2 separate regions of the Homo sapiens genome follow, and region 1 is linked to region 2. The links are contacts of gene promoters, found by promoter capture Hi-C in human tissues and cell types (Jung and others, 2019). All regions are on one chromosome and are shown on one strand. Each heading gives the region's core, a stretch centred on a gene start or on the middle of the fragment in contact. The rest is flanking DNA. Distances are from core to core; before and after follow the strand shown. Region 1 holds the start of CADM1 (cell adhesion molecule 1). Region 2 holds the start of C11orf71 (chromosome 11 open reading frame 71).

Region 1 (6,632 bases), core at 192-2,691, 1.1 Mb before region 2:
GAAGGCTGGGGAAGTCATTTGGCGCAGCTCTTCTAGACTATAGCTCAGACTTAGCAATTTACATTCAGTAATCTCTTGGTCATTTAGCCACAGATAATTTGTCATGGTTTGTTTTAGCTGTTGTGATATTGATATTTATTATGCAAATTGTATTTCCTACATCTTATTGTTCTGCATTCTATGAATACTTAAATTATTATAAACCTTTACACTTAATATGGCTCGTCCTTCAATTTGATGCTTGAGCAACAGAGGGTCAGAGCGCACACGATCTTCTAGAGGGGAAGAAAATAAGTAATTAAAAAGCAGACAAACAAGAGAGCCGGCTGCCTGGCTGAAAAGAAAGCAAAGAGAATTTCGGGGAGGGAGAGTGAGTCCGGAGATGCAAGTCGCTTTAGCAGGAGAGGCTCTCCCAGAGACAGGGGAAGCTCGGAGCACCTGTTGGTCCCCAGCTTCCTTAGGAAGGGCTGGGGGCGCAGAGGAGGAGTGAGAGGGTTTGAGCCCCGAAGGAGGAACACGGCAGACCCTGCCTTCACCACACTCCCTCTCCCCAACTCCCACCACCCCCGCTCTTCACCTGAAGCCTTGACTAATTTTTTCCGTTGTTGTGTAATCTTAAATATCTAATATTACAAATATTTCACACATATATTCAACACACACCTATATATTAAAACCAGGGAGGAGACCCTCGACAAGCGGAGGAGCCTGAGCATACCCTCCTCGATCTACCTTTCCCGAGATTCTGCCGCAAAAAGACCGACTGGAAAATCTCAGAACCCGACTCTACGGCTGCCTTCTCCAACTATCCCCGAGTCTACCGCTAGGCTGTTGAGCGGGCTCTCCCGCTCCGCCGGACGTGCAAAGCACGCATGCACTTCTCCCAGATTGTTTTGTCAATCCGGGGACCTGCCTTCTTACTCTCCACTCCCGCACAGCCCCCGTTCCCAAAGATCTATTCCTTCGGTGCAAGGTGAGTGACGGAAATTTGCAACGTCTGGTTCGCTAGGCCAGATGCACTCGGTGTGCGGGACAGAGGACCCTCTTAAGGGAGATTCTCCAGTCGTCGGTCTGATACAGCGATTGCTATAAACATTCCTAATAAAGGTGTACAAGAAGCTAGACCCGCCCCCTGGAGCCCGAGTCCTTGCACGCCAGGCGCCCGGGAGAACACTTTTTCCTTGATCCGGGGAAAGCAAAACCCGAATTTTAACATAAACATATTTGCATACGCCCCTCCCCTTGGCCCCGCCCCTAGGTGGCGCGGGCGCGCCGCCGAACGCCAGCGCCAGGGGGCGGGGTGGGGGAGGGAGCGAGGCCCTCCGAGAGCCGGGTTGGGCTCGCGGCGCTGTGATTGGTCTGCCCGGACTCCGCCTCCAGCGCATGTCATTAGCATCTCATTAGCTGTCCGCTCGGGCTCCGGAGGCAGCCAACGCCGCCAGTCTGAGGCAGGTGCCCGACATGGCGAGTGTAGTGCTGCCGAGCGGATCCCAGTGTGCGGCGGCAGCGGCGGCGGCGGCGCCTCCCGGGCTCCGGCTCCGGCTTCTGCTGTTGCTCTTCTCCGCCGCGGCACTGATCCCCACAGGTAGGTGTGGGCACCGACCGGTTGGCCCCTAAATCTCCGAAGGCACCCCAGTAGCCTTGGCCACAGAGGGGGGAAACGTTTCCATGACAACCTCCCCCCACTTCCTACATCCGAAGCGGAGGGAGTGTGGAGAGGAAACTCAGGGCTGAGAGGGAAGGGGCTGAGGGCATCTGTGAGCCCCTTCTCCCCTGCCCGGCTAAGTGTGAATGAGAGTCCCCAGGGATGGCTGCACCCACACCTTCTCTCCCCGGCTTGGCGCGGGGTGCAGAGTGGAGTGAGAATGGGGGGCCCGGGGGCTGTAAAGCATGGGGGAAGGGGATGGTTCAAAGACAACCTCAACCCTTCCGGACCCTTCTAAACTCGCCGTTCTCCCCGTAACTTGCAGGTCCTCCCACCTCCCAGGGCTGTCCATTCGCCCCCACCTCTCCAGAGGGCCCCCCCAGTTCTCCATCCCCGAAGCCTCCTGGTGGCTGACTCCCAGCCGCCCGCGGCGTGATTTCTCCCCGGTCCCCAGGACATCCCCAGACTTGTCTGATCTCCCCTGCCCCTTCCCCCAACGCGCTCTGCCTTTCTCCCCTGTCCCCAAACTGCACGCCTCTCGTGTTTCCCTCCGGCCGTTCGCAGCCCTCCGCCCCCTCGGCTCTGCTGCGGGTCTTTTTGGCCCGGCTCCAGGCGGGGAAAGTTCCCCGGCCCGGCCCCGCGGGGGGGGCGGCCGCTGTCGCCGCCTCTGCGGGAAGGCGCCGGGAGCCCGCAGCCCGCCCGCCCCACAGCGTCCTCTGCCACGAGTGGGGACACGGGATTTCCCGGCTGCCCGTTCTTTCGGCGGCCCGAGGGTGGCGGAGGGGGCGTCGCGGCCTCTGCGGCCAGGCGGGCACCCTGCGGGCCTCCGCGCGCTCCCTGCGTGAAGAGCAGTCTTGGGAATTTGCCCAGGGGCGGCTCTGCACGCCCGGTGCCTTCCCTGAAGACACCGAGCACTCGGCTGGAGCCCGATGTGTGGCTGCCCGTGTGCCGGGCGCGTTGGCGCGGTCGGGAAAGAAGAGGGCAGTGTTTGCTTTTGCTAACAAAAGGGAGCCGGAGCTCTTCCTCAGCGGAGAGGCCGGCTGTGCTGCACCCAGCCTCCCTTCCCGCCACCTCGCCGCGCTTGGCAGCCGCGCGGCGTCCTCTGGCCCCTGCTGCAGGCTCCAGGCGGGCGCCGGGACCGAGTGGCACGGGGCCGCGGGGTGCGAGCGGCGATGCAGGAGGGGATGCAGCAGGGCTCTGAGCCTGCAAAGCCCCTCCTTGCAGCTCCAGAGCTGCAGGACCCGGGAGCAACAAGTGGCGGAGGACGCCGAGAGCTCAGCCCCCACCTGCGGAGCCCCAGGCCCGGGCGGGCACAGCGTTGGGGCCACGGTGCTGCTTCAGGGGCGCCTCTCCGCTTGGGCTGTGCCTTTTGTTTACACGCTAGAGGACACACAGTTATGTAAACACCGCAGGAGACACGCTGTAGGAGACGGGGGATGTGTGGGGGTGCTAGCTTGAGATTTGGGGGACGCCGGGTTGGCTGCTTGCCCCCAAAATAGGCTTGCAAAGGAGCTCGGCTTGGGAAACCTATTGGGGGGCGTCTGGCAGCAGCGTCAATTCCAGCGCTGAGGGTTTTTTTCCTCCATGCCACTGTCTCCGGATGTTGTTTATGTGTTTTTCCTCTGTGAATTCTTAATTTATGAGTTACGAGATAATTGGGTTCAGCCGATGCCGGTGTGGTTACAACTTCATTTCAGGTGATGCCTCTGACTGGATGGGTTCAATAAAATGTTCCTGAAAGAGATCCCTCGTGCTGCTGCATTGTAAAAAGCGCCAGTGTCAGTTAAACGTGAGCGTGAGTAAAGGCTCGGTAACTGGCGCATAATAGAGGCAACAATAGACTTGTATTGGCTGCAAAAAAAAAAAAAAAAAAAAAAAAAAAAGCCGGGGGGCGGTGGAAAGCTGTGGTCGGGGATATTGCTTTTTGACTAAAAATGGGAGTCGTGCAATGACGCTTGGCAGCAGAAGTAGGATTAGATTATGCCTCCCCTGTCAAGACTGCTCATTGAAGGCACCGGGTAGTAGCAACGGTACTATATTTGTAACTATCTCGCGGTGAGAAGTTGCCTTCCCTGCGAGGGATATATGCTGACTTAGGAGCGGTCTGGAACTCAACCGTGCATGTCAAAGCTACATGAAAATTCTGTTGCCAGTTACCATGGAAGCAGCTTCTTGCTCTTGTGTACATCCCTGTTTGTATGCTGGTTATCAGATTGTGTTCAAATTAGAAAGTAATTGGGTATGATTTGTAGTGAGGAGATGAGATGACTTTCTTAATTTTTTTCTCTTAATGCATATATATATATTTCGTGGTGAGTTTGAGAGGAGGTCTTGGCTCATTCCGGGGTCCCATACCCCAGGGGTAAATTTCAGGTGGGCACCAAGGGACTTTTCCTCCTCAGTTCTGTTTAAGCTTTCTCAGAGGCCTCCAGTTCCCACTCCCAGGGTTAAAGAAACCTGTTGGTGCATCTGACTTCATTAGGCTTGTTTCGTTTACATCCTTGCTGGGAAAGCGAATTAGGACCATCGTGCGTGGGTCCTGGTTCTGTTTTCTCCTGTAACTGAAGCCATCCATCCCCCGCAGAAAATCTCCTCTCATTTCTCCTGTGATGTTTGGATGAAATGGATGTTAATGAAATGCAGTAAAAATGGGTTTGCTTAAGCTCACTCCACAGTGTTAATCACGCCTGTTATACGTTCAAGGTGCATGCATGATGTTGTTTACGATCCCGAGTGAACCAGTAGCTGATCACCCCCCTCTTATCATTTTCAGGATTAGAGAAGATGGCTGGTGGATGGGGGATTTATGGTGGTGATGGGAAGGAGGGGGGCTGACTTTTGCTTGCTTTGGCCTGTTGGGGCTTGCAAACCGGGGATAGAGACTTTACAAAAGTGCCGCCCTGTTATTGTTGCCTTTCCCTGCATCAGATTGAATAGCCGCAGTAGGGACTTGCACTTGTCTGTGATAGATTTGATAAAATATCCCTCATTAATGCCACTTTATATTTACAGTGTGTCACTGGAGACGCACAAGGCTTCATTTAGTGACTTGTGTGACGAGACAAGCTTGCATTATTTGCCTGGGACGTTTTGGAGGAACAAGAGACCCATTGAGCAATCTTTTGAAATGAACAAATACGAAAAAGGGGGGGAATAAAAGAGCAGGCAGTTCTCTGGAACAAAGAGCTTTATTCATATGGATGTTGTACATGCTTTATCCAGTTTTCCCCAATGGCCCTCCTGGTAAAGGGGAGTGGGACAGGGAAGACGCCAACAGGCAGGACACTTTCGTTTCCTCTCTCACTTCCTGACTTCATATTCTTATCGGAGTTGGTCCCCGGCTCACTGCCTGCTCATCTCTCTCCACACTCTCTAAAATCCCAGAAGGTAACGGATTCCTGGGTCTCCACAGAGAGATTGTGAAATCCTTTCTTCCAGCTCTAAATTTCAACAGAAGACAATGCTAGCTACCTGTTGAGGTTGATGTTGTTGGAGGATATATTGGTTGAAGGGAAAGAGATGTCACTTTTCTATGACATGTGTCAAGAAGTGGTTGATAGTGAATGTCAGATTGGTAAGATGTCTTGCAATTATAACATTAGCCTTATTATTTATTTGGAAAGAAATGCTGTGAAAACCAGCATCCAAAAATTGTATTCTTATTGATGGTGCTCTTGGAGTTTTTAGTGACTTTTTCCCACACCTGGTACATTTTAGTCTCATACATAAGTGAATTTTTATTATTCCTTGGCCTATATTGCTAAATGATTTTTAGGCTTTAAAAATTGATAAGATTGCTATGAATATAAACTGTCTCATTCTCTTGGGATTTCTGTACGTGACATTTTAATGCCTAATTGGTCACTTAGAATTTACATTTTAGAAATGATTTTGTGTGTGTGTGTGTGTCTGTTTTTAGCAAAAGGTGCATTTTAATGTGGGGATTCTCTTAAATTGGGCCAAACTAATCAATGCTATAATTTGAATGGAAATTTACCAGCAGATGAAGAAAATTCAAAATAAATCCAAAGGATTCAAATGCTGTACGTTTTTCTTGGGAAGAATAGTTTTGACCATTATGCTGGGCATTTTTAACTGAAAATCCAGCACAGAAAGGAGAAATCACACAGCGACATCTGTTGCAGAATTGAAAATTTGCTGCTTTGAGTTGGAAGCAATTAGTCCCATATAAGCACCTAATGGTATCAGTGTGTGTGTGTTTGTGTGTATGTATAAGTAGTGATACAAATACATACATATACATACTTATATATACATATATATGCACAGGATACAAAAACTTGCCCACATACAATATTCATATTCACATTAAAAATTATGTAATAGAAAATGTAACATTTTGGGACTAAAGCTGTTTTTAAAAATATTACCTTTTGAGGAATTAGAGATTCTTATAATCATGGAATTTTTGAGAGGGGAAAGATATTAGAAATCATCTGGTGAAATCCCATTTTGAAGTAAAGTAGCCGAAGGCCAGGGAGGGAAGAATCTTACTCTGCAGTTGAACTAAGGCTAGGTTAACGACAGATCCTGGATAGGGACAGGTCCCTTGATGTCCAGCCAGTGGACCTTCTGTTCCGCCTCCTGGCAAGGATGCCTGGTCAGAGATATGGATCATGAATAGACACTATCTTGGCTAAAAATATTTTGTATTTTGAAGGCAGCAAGATTAATTGTTGCTCTAGGTAATAAACCCATGGATCAGAGGAGTGACCTCTGGGAAGAAAGGACCAGTTCTTGGTAATATTGTCTTTGGTGTTGACAAATGATCCTGAAACCTCTGGAATTTATTTGGCAGCCGCAACAGAAATGTCATCCAAAGCACCTTCATAGGGGAGAAATCTGGATTTGTGTCATTGGAATAAGTCTGATATGCAAAAACCAGGCTTCTGAAGGCTCAGATTTAGATTTCTACAGTTTTTTATTTGTCTTTTCAAGGATTAATATTAGCAGTAGAACTGGTTCT
Region 2 (5,679 bases), core at 2,925-5,424:
AATTCTTTAAATAGAGAGAGTGCCTTGTTATGTTGCCTAGGCTAGTCCCAAACTCAAGGCCTCAAGTGGTCCTCCCACCACAGCCTTCCAAGTAGCTGGGACTATACGAATGGGTCACTGCACCTGGTTTTTTCTCCCCAAGAAATTCTAAGAGGGAAAACTTTTTATTTTCCTCTACCTAGGATGCCTTTGAAGACTCCATTAAAGGGGCTGGAAGTGCTTTAAATGCCAACTTTACCAAGAAATGTTTAAACACTGTTAATTAATTTCAGCTGGCAAGAAAGAACACCGGGAGGGTACACTTTTTGCACTATTGCTGGCTCACTATTCCACTTTCTAGTATCTCTTCATATCCATCCACTTCTCTCCAGCTCATGGCACCACCTTAATCTAAACTATCAACCTCATCCATCAATAGCTTCCAACATCAATGCCTTGCTACCAAAAGCTTCCTCACTGCTCTATTTTCACTCTTGCCCCCTCCAATCCATTCTCCCACTGCAACCAAACAACTCTTAAAATATAAACTTGTTCCTATCAGTACCCTACCTAAAACATTTCACTGCCTTCCTACTCCATTTTAGGGTAAAATCTCAAAATCCTGATTATAGTTTAAAAGACCCTCTCCAGCCTATCTACCAAAATCCCCTACTGCTCTCCATTTTCATTCATTATGATCTAGGTACACTGGCTTCTTTCAGTTCCACATTCATCTATATCATCTCCTTCTCTTAAAATTTTCTCAAAGCCCTTTGTACTCTTTCTTTAGAGAACTTATTACAGTAATTGAACAGGTATTCACAAAAATATATATAATATGTGTCTTCATTTAGACTTTAAGCTCCTCTAGATAATACATCATAGTGGCTGGGCTCAATCACACTACACTGCCTGGGTTTGAATCCCAGCCCACTGAACCTGAGCAAGTTAACCTCCATTTTTCATTTCCCTTCATATAAGAGGTAGAGATAAAAATAATCCCTACCCTCATAAAACTGCTGTGAGGAATAAATGAAATCATATATGTAAAAGATATGGTGAAGAACCTGACATATGGCAGGTATTTATTAAATCTTTCTTAAATGACTGTTAAATAGCTTTATGGATATACCGGGAAAAATTGTCCCTGGTAAAATATGAACCTCCCCAAAGCAAATAAAATCATTTAAGTAAATATGATATTTTCTAATACTCAGTACCTGAAGAGATTTTACAAATCATTTAATTCAACTTATTTTCCTTACACATGGGAAGACGGGACTAAAGAAAGGAGACTAGCTCAAGATTACACAATTGATAGATGCAGACCTAGAATCCAATTCTAGGAATTCTTAGTCCAATAGACTGTTGACTAACTGGTATTTTTCAACTGTAAGTAACAACCAATTAATGACTGTAAAATAAATTTTAAAATGTTTTAAATGAAATAGTAATCCAAGTAGTGAGGGTAAATAATGTTTTGAGAAATTTTGTTTCAAGTGTATACATGTACTGTACACATATGTGGGTATGGTTATGTCGCTACAAATCAACAAATAGTTATATACGTATCTATTCTAAGGGGACTATATACAATGTGTTTGTCTATAGAATAGACACATTCTATACCCCTTAGAATAGATACATAACAACAACCCCAAAAGGCAAGTAATAACGGCAGAATGAAGAGATAAGAGAATAATGAAGGAGACTATTTACTCATGTGTTTTGAGGCTATTCCCTATAAGAATTCCTGATAAATGATCTTAACAATAAGTGAGAAATATTACCTGCTAGGAGATGTGGAGGTAGGGCTTGAATTTCCAACATGATGTTGGGGATATGACAAACTGACATCTTGTGGGGCATGACTACTTCCTAAAATGAAACAATTTGAAAAATTATTCTTGATAGAAAATCTAATTTGAAATTTTGTCTTCCCCACTTGAAATCACTCCAAAAAGGTAAACACAATCTAAAAGAGAAAAATCTCAAACTACTGGCCGGGCGCGGTGGCTGACGCCTGTAATCCCAGCACTTTGGGAGGCTGACGTGGGCACATCTCTCGAGGCCAGGAGTTCGAGACCAGCCTGACCAACATGGTGAAACCCCACCTCTACTAAAAATACAAAGAATTAGCCAGGCGTGGTGGCGTGCACCTGTAATCCCAGCTACTCAGGAGGCTAAGGCAGGAGAATCACTTGAACCTGGGAGGCAGAGGTTGCAGTGAGCTGAAATTGCACCACTGCACTCCAGCCTAGGCAACAGGGCAAGACTCCATCTCAAAAAAAAAAAAAAAAAAAAAAAAAAAAAAAAAAAAAAAGAATCTCAAGCTGCTGTAGACCGCTTTACGGCTTCATCGGGGTGAAAATTATAAGTGTATAATATCAGATAAGCAAAACAAAGCACTCCATAAATATCCAATCTGACCATAATTTTCTGATCTCCACCCTAAATTGTAACACTGGATACATGGACAGTTTCATCCTCACATGATCAAGAACCAAAATATATAAAAGTAATTACAAAGCAGCCAGGAGAAGTATTTTCAGAAAATAAACCTAGCTCTTTTCAGAGTACCCAAGCCCAGCTCTCTTAGTGATACAGTTTATGTTTTTTCACTAACCCAAAATGAAACTTTAAGCTCAGTTTTGAAATTCTAATTTCAAAATCCATGTGTCAATGTTACCCGTTTTCAGGGATATATAAAGTTTGCTATATAAAGTTTACTATTCACAATGCTTAAGAAAGAAGTTTCATCTACAAATAAGAGGTTCTTTAAAACTGAATAATAAATTTAAAAACAGCAGGAAACAATGCCCCCCGAACCTCATTGGGCAGTTACCTGATCTAAATTGAATTTTGATAGGCCTTCCATAAAGTTTGATTCCATTAAGTAGATTCATTGCATAAGGAACAGACACTTCATGTTTGAAATTCACAAACGCAAACTGCTTTGGTTTACCATCCTTATCTTTTGGAATTTTCACCTTTATTACTGGCCCAGCCTACAAACAAAAAGGTGTTTAGAATTTAAATAAAGCAACTAAGGGAAAATACTCAAATTTTACAAATAAGATATGACAAAGTTTAAAAACAACAGAAACGTAATCAGAAACTTCTTTTGAAAATGATGCACGGATTTCCATTTTGGCTACAGTAAACATCCTAGTTATGACTGAACATTAGATTTATTTGGGGAAGGGGGCCCATAAGGAACTGGAAACACAATCACTTTTGCAATTCACAGCACTGTATGGCTTAACATAGTGACCAATCGCCATTATTTTGCCACTCCATGAAAATGAACATTTATCAAGAACAAGAGAATGATTTTCTTTAACTAAAAACGGACTTTTGTATTGATTAATCAAACAATACCAGTTATTAGGGGATAGGGATGGGGGGAATAGGATACTCAGAATTTTTCACACTTTTTAATACAGCAACACTAAAATGCTGTTTTTCTACGGAGTACTTAACCATTTTATTTTACATATTTTAATAATGCTGCAATTTGATAAGCAAACTTTAGGGGAAAACAGACACAAATAAATTAAAATATTAAGTTCCCAGTCAGATAAACCAAAGACAAATTATCCTAAGGGGAAGATGACAACAGGAAGGATAAGAAAAAGCACTGCTCAACGAAGACCCTACACACACACTGTGTTCCCAAGGACCCCTGGATCTCTACCACGGGAAACCTGATCGAGGATCCCTCCACCACCTTTAGTCGTCACTTTCGGCCTAAACGAACCAAGATCTTCCAGGAAAGCGACACCCAGCGAGCGTTTCGCAACCCAGACCCGCCTTTCACCCCCAAACAGCCACCCGTCGGGTCCCCTGACGGCTACGAAAAGAAAACGGGGTGGCCGCTGGCCAGGCCCTAGGCGAGACGGAAAACGAAAGGCAAAGGGCCGAACCCAGCCGCTTACCTGGTGGAAAAGCTCGAAAAGGAGCTCCTCGGTCACTTTCGTTTCAAGGTTGCCCACAAAGAGAGTGCGATCCGCTTCCGCCGCCGCCGCCCCCATCTCAGCGTCGCCCCCTCCCTAACCTGGCCAAAAGGTCGTGGCCGACGCACCCACTGCGCATTCACGGAAGCCCCACGTCCTCACGCTCCCTGGCGTCACAAACGAAAACGCCCGTTGCGCTTGCTCTCAGCGGGCGACGACGTGCGCGGACGGTCTGCGCATGCTCGCCAGGATACCCCTCGTTAAAGGCAAGGCGGCTTCTGGCTCTTCCGCAGGCTCAGTTATGGGTTCCTGTGTGCTTAGTCATCGGGTCCGACACAGGCTGGACTGATCTGGGGAGCCGCGAAGGGCCTGCCTTCACAAAGGGACGTAACGCAAGTACTGCGGGCAGTGTTTGAATATGGCCCTGAACAATGTGTCCCTGTCCTCCGGTGATCAGAGGAGCAGGGTGGCCTACCGCTCTTCCCATGGCGACCTCAGACCGCGGGCGTCAGCGTTGGCGATGGTCTCCGGAGACGGCTTCCTCGTTTCCAGGCCTGAAGCGATTCATCTAGGACCTCGGCAGGCGGTGCGACCAAGCGTTCGGGCCGAGAGCCGTCGAGTGGATGGTGGCGGCCGGAGCCCAAGGGAACCAGATGGCCGGGGCCGGAGCCGCCAAGCCAGATTCTCACCTTACCCAATCCCTGCCGTTGAACCCGATCTCCTAAGAAGTGTGCTGCAACAGCGTTTGATTGCATTAGGAGGTGTTATCGCAGCTCGAATTTCAGTTTAAACGAACACCTTTCCTCTGGCCCTCACTTAGCTTGTGAACAGGCCTTTTTAAAATCCTTTCTTGGTGTAGCAGCAATCGTGTTGTTTTATTTTTAGATGGATGTATTTTCATTTAATACGTGGGAGTTATATGAATATGTCCTAGCACTAAGGGAAGTGTAACAGTTGATTGATTTAGGTGGTTTTATGCAGCCAGAACGATTGGATCAGGAAAGGTGTGGAAGGGATATTCTTAGGTCGTCACAAAGCTGAGCTGATGGGAGCACCCTCCCCAGAGGTCAACAATCCATTCGTTAACTCAGACACTTAACCTTTACCTTTACTTCTGTTGGCGAAAAAGAAGTGCTCCTTTTTATTACACTGATTTATCCTTCCATCTTTTCCTTGGCATTTACCATCTTCCATCTCCCCCTTCACTTTTTTCAGATATGTCTACAAACAGACTCCAATCTCAGTCGCACTAAAAATAAGAACAAAACCTAAACCTTACAGTTCTTTCAAATTATTAAATCAATTTATTATTCCTTTCTTTGGCAAAGGTTCCAAATTTTTACTTTATATTTGTAATTTTACTATTTGCATTCAGTCCCAGCGCATTAATCTGAATCTGCTGTCCTAAAATACACTGGTGAAAACATTACTTGTACAATCTCCTATCAGAAAACTGTTCATCTACTCACTGTAGTGCCCTCCTTGAAATGTGTGTTTGTTCATTCAACTAACAATATTTGGGGATCCCTGTAGTAAACACTGTATGAATTTTACACAGTCTGGCCATCAAGAAAGATCACGGAGTATATTCTAGATGGGGAGGCTACTAAGTGAATAGGAATCACCACGCTGGGCTGTTTATTAGGTACAGTAATAAACATAAGTACTGGTTGCAGTGACTTTTTTTTTTTTTTTTTCATCATAATACTGCACTATCCTGGTTCTTCTCTTACCTGGCTGATCA

The links. Contacts are between HindIII fragments. The study calls those that stand out against the background at their distance.
Region 1: a contact is called between the fragment with the promoter of CADM1 here and the fragment with the promoter of C11orf71 in region 2, in 1 of the 25 tissues and cell types used here (hippocampus).

The regions. Positions count from the first base shown.
Region 1 is chr11:115,499,224-115,505,855 of GRCh38, reverse strand. It overlaps CADM1 (cell adhesion molecule 1), which reads left to right and starts at 1,441. Exons shown (of 12, transcript NM_001301043.2): 1 at 1,441-1,585. The coding sequence starts at 1,462. RefSeq lists a silencer at 1,256-1,415. The HindIII fragment of the contact is 7,329 bases long and covers 1-4,385 here.
Region 2 is chr11:114,399,006-114,404,684 of GRCh38, reverse strand. It overlaps C11orf71 (chromosome 11 open reading frame 71), which reads left to right and starts at 4,174. Exons shown (of 1, transcript NM_001271562.2): 1 at 4,174-5,679. The coding sequence starts at 4,354. The coding sequence ends at 4,725. It overlaps RBM7 (RNA binding motif protein 7), which reads right to left and starts at 4,019. Exons shown (of 5, transcript NM_001286045.2): 1 at 3,918-4,019; 2 at 2,825-2,987; 3 at 1,770-1,857. The coding sequence starts at 4,013. RefSeq lists enhancers at 3,847-4,389, 4,287-4,676, 4,390-4,932. The HindIII fragment of the contact is 14,324 bases long and covers 1-5,679 here.